Regions from separate parts of the Homo sapiens genome. Here all the other regions are linked to region 1. The links are contacts of gene promoters, found by promoter capture Hi-C in blood cells and fetal thymus (Javierre and others, 2016). All regions are on one chromosome and are shown on one strand. The core of a region is centred on a gene start or on the middle of the fragment in contact, and the rest is flanking DNA. Distances in the headings are between cores, read along the strand shown. Region 1 holds the start of NR1D2 (nuclear receptor subfamily 1 group D member 2). Region 2 holds the start of ZCWPW2 (zinc finger CW-type and PWWP domain containing 2). Region 3 has its middle 3.7 kb from the start of RAB5A.

Region 1 (2,931 bases), core at 288-2,787:
ATAAATTCCAGAAGTAGGGAAGAATAGAGGGCTACCGTGATTAGGGAACTGTGTTTAGAAGGGTTTGGGTATCAAGACAGCCTTGGAAAGAGAAGCAGGACCCACATCTGTGCAGGGCGAAGCAGGTCAGGTTAAGTCGTTGAATTTTTTCAAAGTGTAACACGAAGCCATTGGAGGGTTTTCAGCAGAGTAATCAGATCTTATTTACATTTTAAAAATAATACTTTGACTGCTGGGGAGAAGTGACTGTAGGAGGACCCAAGAAGCACTCTCCTAGTTAGGGAACCAGAGCAGTAGCTGAGGCAAGAGATAATGGTTTGCTCTAGCAATACCAACGGTGAGAAACAGGGATTGAACATATTTTGAAGGTAGAATAGCTCAGACTTGCTAATGGATTGAATGGAGAATAAAAGGCTGTGAGAGTGTTAGGAGAGAAACATAATTTTGCTGGCTTCAGGAACTTGCAGATTTACCAAAACAGTAAATATTGATATGGTGAAGAAACCTGGGGGGTGGGGAAATAGGGTGTTGCACATGTAAATATGTCTTCCACGTGACATTTTCCCCACCTTCTATAGTGAAGAATTTCAGAGCAAACTGGAAAGAGTTTTACAAGCAACACCCATATCCCCATCGCCTAAGTTTAACATCTTACCATATCATCTATTCATGCCTCTATCAGCCCATCTTACTTCAGTAATGCGTTTAAATTGCGGGCATCAATGCACTTTCCTCAGAATTCACCTCAGCACGCATACAATTTATGTCTAGCTTTTTTCTTTTGATCTAAAATTTACATTCAAGGTGAAACGCCCAGATCTTGACTGCACATTAGCTGAGTTCGGACACACGCGTACACCCGTCTAAAATCTGAGATGCAAAAAAGCGGCATAATCAAACGGGCTGCTGGATGTAGGAATCTGGAGATTAGAAGAGAGGTCTTGGCTTGAAATATAAATCTGGGAATCACAAGAACATAGGTCTACTTAAGCTATGAGATTGGATAAAATCACCTAGAGGGTGCAGAGGGAAAGGGAAGGGTCTGTGCCCTCAGAGACCAGCGTTTGGAGGTCGGTCGGGTGGGAGCGGGGGGTGGGGGTGGGGGGCGCAAGGGTTGAGCAAGCCCGAACCAGCCGGCCCAGCCGGGGTCCTGAGAATCACCCTTGCTCGGCGCCAAGCCACCGCTTTGACCTAAGAGCCACCAGGTTGGGGGGCAGGGCGTGGAGAGGACTCCCGGCCAGAGGCGGGAAAGGCAGCCGGGAGGAGAGGAAAGAGGAGGAGGAGGGGAGGAATATGCGGCGGAGGGAAACGGAGAAGAGGTTTACGGCACGGAGGGGAAAAACGAAGGAAGAGGAGGGGCTCGGCAAGGAGAAGGAAGGGGAGAAGGGGGAAGCGCAGGAGAAAAGGGTAGCCGGGGAGCCGGGAAGCGGGCGGGAGGGAGGGGAGCGGCGGGGCGGAGGTCGCCGCAGCGGCCGGCCGAGGGCGGGCGGAGGGAGGGGGTGTGTGCGCGGGTCACATGGTCGCGGCTGCCCTCCCCGTCAGCCGCCCTCGCCGCCGCGGTGCGCTGGCTGCAGGAAGCCGCCGCGCCGCCGCTTTTGTTGTCAGGGACCCAGCGAGGAGCGCCGCTCGCCGGCCGCCGCCACCCTCTCTCGCTGCAGCCTGCTGTGCGCTGCACGGCCTGGGGCCCGGGAGCCCCGCCCGCTCTGCCCATGAGGGGGCCCCGCGACCACCGCTGCTTCCAGCCCGGGGCGGCGCGGCGCTGAGGCGGCGGCGGCGGCGCTGCCCCCTCTGCGGGAAGCGGGCGGCCCCGGCCGCCTCCGCGAGGGCACCATGGAGGTGAATGCAGGTAAGAACCGGACTGCGGCGGGTGGGGGATGGCCGGAGGGAGCGCTCAGAGCCCGCGGGGCACTTTGGGGGGCGGCGGCAGGGGGTGTCCCCATGGCCGGTGGGGCGGGGTGGGCTGCTGCGCGCCGCGTGTCCGCCTCTGGCTCGGTTCCCATCGCCCCCCGGGCCGCCCGGCGCCCGCCCTCTTGTCTCCCTGCAAAGCCGCAGCGCGGCCTGCCGGCGCCCGGCCCGGCCCCCCCCTCACATGGCCCGGCCGCGCGAGCCACGTGCGCGCTGTGTTTACGTTCGGCGGCGCGCGGGCGCCGGTTGGCTGGGCGGGCGCGTGACGCGGCATTACATAATGGGCGCTGAGGCGGCGGCGGCGGGCGGGGACACGTGAGGCCGCTCGGCTCCCTGACCCACATTCCCCGGGGCCGCAGGGACACGTGGGGGCGGGGGCGCGCGCGCGCGCGCTGGCTGGGAGCGCCGCAGCCTCCCGGGAGGCTCCGCCCCTTTGGAAGCCTCGGGGCAGTGACGTCGCCGCGATTCCCTCCTCCCCCGCGGGGTTGCACACTGCGGAGGAGGCCGCGCGTGCGCGCCCGCTGAGCCCCCGCGGCGGGGCGTCCCCGAAGCGGGCGCTGACACCGCAGTGCACCGGACGCCGCACGCTCTTTTCGCGAGGTGACCCCAAGGCGCGGACCCCGCGCAAACCAAACGAACCGGCGCCTGGGGAGGCTGGTAGCTGCATACCTTGCAGATTCCGAGGAGGAAGTGCAGGACGAGGGCGTGCTGCAGGCCGGAGGAGGCGCCTCGGGGAAGGCGTGGGGCTTTCCCGAAGGGATACGCTCGAAGGAGCTCTGAGGTGCTTCGATCCCGAGCGACTCCCCGCAGACTGGGTAGCACCGCCCCTGTTAGGATGCCGTCTGTTTACAAAAAAAACCGTTTGCTCTAGGACGCGACCTGTCTCATACACACACAGTCTTAAAAACTGCTTCCAGATCCCTTCGGGCTGGAGTTTTCCAGTAAACGGGTCACACCCGCAGCTGAGCGTGCAGCTCACGTATGGTCAGGATGACTCAGGTGATCATAGGTGACTCCAACACCATA
Region 2 (2,931 bases), core at 286-2,785, 4.4 Mb after region 1:
AAAGAAAAAGATTGGTTCTATTACTTCATGGATTATAAAAAAAACTTCAGCATTTTACTTAATAATAATGACAAGGTTCTGCATTGGTAATTAATAGTAGCCAAGCGTTTATGGTATACCAAGCAGTGTGCTTCACCTTTTGGAGAAACTATCTCATTTGTTCTTCATAAGCATTCAGTAAATCTATGTAATACCTCTGAGGTTGTAAAGAATCTCCTCAGATTACAGGTGGAGAAATTGAGACATGAAAACATTAGAAAGTAGGGGAGCCAGAAATGAAAATCAGGCAGCTGACTCCAGAGCCAGCATAACTCTTAGAAACTATGCTTTGGTGCCTTAGAGTATGTATTACACCCATTTCAGAGATAAGGAAAATGAAGAAAAAGTTTAGCCTCTTACCCATTGTCAAGTAAATGGAAAAATCAGCATTCAGATACTGGTGTTCTGACCTAATCCAGTGTCATTTCCCATTATGTTATGCTGTCTCTTTAATATTAAAACCTTCTACTTGCGTAAGATGTCTGGCTTACAAACAATATCACATTAAAATTTGGAAATATCCTGTAAAGGATGCACTGTTCTCAATTTACAGATGATGAAATGATCACAAGATTGGGCAATGAGATATGGCGTTTTTAGAGAAATGAAATTCTGCCTTGAGATCTTGCTCAATCCAATTTGAAATTCCAATCTAAAAACCAAAATGTCTTCTACACATAAGGCGCAAGGGTCAATTTTAATTCTGGTACGTCTGTCTTTGATCACCTTAGCAAATTTCCATCACCTCTTGGAGCAACTGATGGTTTGATTTGTACTAGAGTTTTCGTGGGTATTTTATCTCGCTTTCGAGTATTGGGGTTTCTTTTGTGTAGAGGGTGTCAGCCTACCTTGCACGTAGTAGTAGTTACTCAACAAACAGCCGAAGGCTGGAATGAATACCGTATACAGGTTAGACATTGGAGAAACGACGAATACCTGTTAGCCCTCGATCAAGTGCAGGGGGTCGATATTCACCACTCAGATGCCCCAGGGAGTACCGTCCTAGCCAATGTCCCTCTTTTCTTTCCGATAATTTGTATCGGAAAGAAGCATTTAGCAGTCTCAATGAATGAAAAAAAACTGAAGGCGCCCCAGTAAGAGTACGAAAAGAAAAGGAGTAATTAGAGAAGTGAATGACCAAGAAGGGCCTGGACAGCTGGGGGTGAGGGTGACAGGGGAAAGGGTGTGGACAGCTGGGTGTGGGGGTGACTGGGGAAAGGGATGCCCAGGAGTGGGCCGCTCCCTAGTCAAAGGAGGGGGCGCGGGAGGGAGTGAGAAAAAAATGACGTGTCTTTTTGGACCGGCAACAGCTACGGAGGTTGGCCGCGGCATTGCCCGCATCCCTATCCTCCACCCGTCCCTGGCGAGTCACTCACCCAGAAGCCAGGCTACGTAGGGCCGCCCCCAAGGCCGCCGAGTTTCGATTCCTTAGTGTTTGGAAACGGACCGAAAACAAACCGGGTCGCCAGGGGTCACCACGGGCTTCCGGTTTCTTCGAAGACACCGCCGCTTCCACAGCGAAGGGAGCTGCTCCGGGCACGTCGCGGAGGGAGTCCCATTTCTTCTGACTCGGCAGGAGCCCGGGACGTTCTGGAAGGAGGGACGAGCCGAGGCAGGAGGGGCCGGGCCGACGCGAGAGAAGGCCCGTTACCCAGCAATACGCGCGCGAGACCCAGGCCCGCCGTCGGGACCAGCACGGGCCGGAGGGAGGGGAAGCACTCCGGAAAGTGATTGGAAGTGTGGATGAGCTCTCAGCCGGAAAAGGGGCTGCCGCTGTCCGCGGGCTCGGCGCCAGGGACGCGCGAGGAAACCGGAAGTCAGGCCCGAGGGAGCTGGGAGGGCGTTAGCGAAGCCAGGTTCGGTCGTGGGGGTGGGGAAGTGCAGGAGTGGCGCGCGGCGTACTACATGTCCCGTGAGCCTCCGCGGCGGGACGGGGCGGGGCCGCGGGACGCCAGGAGGCGGAGGCGGAGTGGAGTTAGGTAAGAGCGTTACCAGCCGTCTTGTCTGTTGGGCCGAGGTCCCCCTTCAGGGGCGCCCTCTGGTGCGTCTTTTTCACTCAGTGTCCTTTTGGGGGGTCCCCGGGCCGTGTGGTGCGTGCTGGCTCGGCTCAGTAGCGCTGTTACAGGCTTACGAGCTGACGTGGCTGGGAACTGGGAAGTCTGTTAGAAGCCGTTCCTCTGTAGCCTCTGTTTTCTAAACTACTTGCAAGCCCTCAGGCGATCACTTGAGGCACAAGCTCGACGAATTGCGTAGGGGTCTGTAATTATTCACAAACGACACCACGACTTCTAGCACACTGCTCAATTTATGGAATGAGAGACAGGGAGAAGATGCCAGAGTACTGGAGTTGCGCCCGGCTTCCCTGGAGTTGCCACCACCTTGGTTATTTCTAGATGATAGACCGTCCCTAGCTGTGGAGTCACAAGTAGTTGAATTAATTAGTCATTGAAGGTCGCAGCCAGGTGGAACCCCTGTAACTCTAAGGTATTATTGGTTAAATAAACAAATAAACAAGGAACAATAATTATAGAAAATTTAACGTCACTAACCGCCGATTAGCAATACGGACATTACTCACCACCCCCTTAAAGTAGTATTTTGTCATCTGTCCGCTTAACTATCAGCCCAACTGTCAGCCCAATAGGATGGATTTCACTCAAGGGTTTATATGAAAATTCGTTTTTATTGTTGTTGGTTTTTTTATTGTCTTTTTTGGTTTAGATTTAAGTGAAAATTTATAGCTGTTAGGAACAAAGACCACAAGTTGAAGTTTTATGACATTTCTAAAAATACTTAGAAATCTGTGTTAATGTTATCGTTGAGAAAGGAAACGATTTGCTTCAATTTACTGGGCTGGAGAATGGAAGAGAGCAGTGTTTTTAATATTTTGAG
Region 3 (2,931 bases), core at 260-2,759, 4.0 Mb before region 1:
GGTGTTTGAGACCAGCCTGGCCAACATGGTGAAACCACGTCTCTACTAAAAATACAAAAAAAATTACCCAGGCGTGGTGGTGGGCACCTGTAATCCTAACTACTCAGGAGGCTGAGGCAGGAGAATCACTTGAACCTGGGAGGCAGAGATTGCAGTGAGCCGAGATCGCACCACTCCAGCCTGGGTGACAGAGCGAGAATCCATCTCAAGAAAATAAATAAATAAAAATTTAAAAGTACCACTTCTAAGGTCAAAGATCAGCACATTTCATTGAGCTCCAACCTTTTGCCTAAGGCATAAGCAATAGAAGCAGCAGTTAGCTCATTGATAATTCTCAGTACATTGAGATAAGCAATAGTTCCAGCATCTTTGGTAGCTTTGATGCTGAGAATCATTAAACCAAGCTGATATTGTGACCACAGCATTGGTAACACTCTTTCCAAGGTAGGCTTCTGCCATTTCCTTCATCTTTGTCAGAATAACAGAGCAGCTGTCCCCAACCTTTTTGGCACCAGGGACCAGTTTCATGGAAGACAATTTTTCCACAGACCAAGTTGCAGGGGGTAGGATCGGGGGAAGATAGTTTTAGGACAATTCAAGCACATTACATTTATTGTGCACTTTATATTATTATTACATTGTAATATATAATGAAATAATTATATAACTCACCATAATGTACAATCAGTAGGAGCCCTGAACTTGTTTTCCTGCCACTAGACGGTCCCATCTGGAGGTGATGGAAGAGAGTGACAGATCATCAGGCATTAGATTGTCATAAGAAGTGCTAGATCCCTTGTGTGTGCAATTCACAATAGAGTTCACACTCCTATGAGAATCTAATGCTGCCACTGATCTGACAGGAGGGGGAGCTCAGGTGGTAATGTGAATGATGGGGAGCAGCTGTAAATACAGATGAAGCTTCACTGACTTGCTGCCACTCACCTCCTGCTGGGCAGCCAGTTCCTAACAGGCCACAGTCCAGTACCAGTCCATGGCCCTAGAGGACACCTTTCTGGACAGAAGTTTTTTTTATCTCTCCCTTGTATTCTACTTGGACCTTGGGCCTGCCAACATTATTCACTACCATGAAGGGCCAATGCTTCATATCAGACTGGACAACAGCATAATCAAGTCTGTGTCCAATCAGCAATCAGATTTGGCATCAAAAACTGTGTTCATGGGGTTCATTGCAACTTGATTCTTTGTGGCATCACTGAGCAATTGTTCAGTATCAGTAAAGGTGACATAGCTTGGAGTGATTCAATTTCCCTGATCATTGGCAATTACCTCTATTTTTACATGCTGGAAAACACCCACACAAGAGTAGATGGTGCCAAGATGAATACCAACTGCAGGTCCTTTAAACAGGGTTGTTTGCATGTAGGCCGGATTGGATTCTGAAGAAAGACATAGGAACCCCAAAAGTGGCCACAGCATTCAATAAATCCCCATAAATTCTTCAAATGACTTTGCAGTATGTAAATCCAGGTAAGGGCTCATTCAATTCATTCATTCATTCTACAAACAGGTATTGAGTCCCTCCCTATTTTGTGTCAGTGTTGGGAATACAGTTAGCCCTCTGTATTCCATCGAAAGTATTTGAGTTAAAAAATGAAAAAAACACAAAATAATACAAATTAAAAAAATACAACTATTTACATATCATTTACATTGTATTACTTATTGTAAGTAATCTGAAGATGATTTAAAGCATACAGAATAGCCTACATGCAAATACTACACCATTTTACATGAGACTAGAGCATCTGCAAATTTTGGTACCCATATGGTGGGGGAATAAGGGAGTGTCCAAGAACCAATCACAAGCAGATGGACTGACTGTATAACCCAACCCCTATCTCATGGAGCTTATATTCTAGTAGGGATAGATAACCATTAAGTGGAACGATGCGTAATATCATATCAAATGGTGCTAAGTGTTATGAAGACAATGCATAATATCATATCAAACAGTGCTGTTATGAAGACAACAGACTACTTCGATATGTAACAAAGCATTTAGAATTAGTGGGCTTAGAAGTCCCTTAGGTAGATGACATTTGAGCTGAAGCCTGAATGATGCCCTCCAAAGACACAAGCTTTTGAAACATGACTAGCTTAAGTTTTCACAGCCTTTTATTCACTGACTTGCTACTACGCCAATGTTAGAGTTACCGTTGGTTTGTCTCCAGGAAAAATTTTGAATTGTCTCCAGACAGTTCCAGTTAAAAGTAAATGTAACCATTCATTATCATCTATGCAAAGATTCATTCTTTAGCTACACAAGGGAGGACAGATTTCCTGGAAGAGAAGGAAAAGGTTATGGGATCCTGTGAATGGTAGAGAGACACCTGCCACTGGGAATTTGTTATTGAGTATTTAGAGATTTGAGGGCAGTATAAGCATCAAAGACAGTGTTTAAGTCTTCATGATTATTTATCCATTTTGTACCTTCCTTAACAAGTTCTATCAACTGGTAGGACTCCACATTTGACACTAAAATATATACAATTATCAGTCCTCCTCAGTTATCTGGGGCTATGAAAAAGAAAACATAGGCATATTGCAAGTGGCAATAAAACAACAGAGCTTTACTGTGTCATTTCAATTTCTCTAAAACTACTACCGGATCTTTAGAAATGCCAGCCACCAGGGCAGCACTCTTCCAGGCAAACATTATGACTAAACTGTAAAATATTGTGAAAAGTATTCATGAAGGAGGTGAAGACAAAATCACTAAACAGGAACGAGTGAAGAAGCAACATACTGGAACGATGAAATAGGGAGTTTTTTGCAATTTATAAATTTCAGCATCAAATGTTTTTCATTGTGAGGTCTTCTTAATGTTCGTGATTCTAAATGTAATTAAGTTCACCAATACTTTGGGGGTCCCTATTATAGCAGTCAAGGGTCTTCTGTGAAGAACTG

The links. The method cuts DNA at HindIII sites, captures the fragments that hold promoters and counts their contacts. A CHiCAGO score of 5 or more calls a contact.
Region 2: the fragment with the promoter of ZCWPW2 here is called in contact with the fragment with the promoter of NR1D2 in region 1 in 1 of 17 cell types (neutrophils); the score reaches 5.7 in neutrophils.
Region 3: a fragment that was not itself captured here is called in contact with the fragment with the promoter of NR1D2 in region 1 in 1 of 17 cell types (non-activated CD4 T cells); the score reaches 7.0 in non-activated CD4 T cells.

Annotation. Positions count from the first base shown.
Region 1 is chr3:23,943,749-23,946,679 of GRCh38, forward strand. NR1D2 (nuclear receptor subfamily 1 group D member 2) reads left to right here and starts at 1,538. Exons shown (of 8, transcript NM_005126.5): 1 at 1,538-1,846. The coding sequence starts at 1,831. It overlaps LOC124909354 (a long non-coding RNA gene), which reads right to left and starts at 1,432. Exons shown (of 2, transcript XR_007095845.1): 1 at 1-1,432. It also overlaps a transcript of NKIRAS1 not described here. RefSeq lists silencers at 1,402-2,591, 2,088-2,629. The HindIII fragment of the contact is 14,696 bases long and covers 1-2,931 here.
Region 2 is chr3:28,347,186-28,350,116 of GRCh38, forward strand. ZCWPW2 (zinc finger CW-type and PWWP domain containing 2) reads left to right here and starts at 1,536. Exons shown (of 10, transcript NM_001040432.4): 1 at 1,536-2,018. It overlaps AZI2 (5-azacytidine induced 2), which reads right to left and starts at 1,639. Exons shown (of 8, transcript NM_022461.5): 1 at 1,416-1,639. RefSeq lists enhancers at 1,506-1,565, 1,753-2,733, 1,833-2,127, 2,166-2,245. The HindIII fragment of the contact is 7,230 bases long and covers 1-2,931 here.
Region 3 is chr3:19,941,946-19,944,876 of GRCh38, forward strand. It overlaps a transcript of EFHB not described here and the pseudogene HSPA8P18. Among named protein-coding and RNA genes, the nearest start is that of RAB5A, 3.7 kb to the right of the region's middle. The HindIII fragment of the contact is 1,181 bases long and covers 920-2,100 here.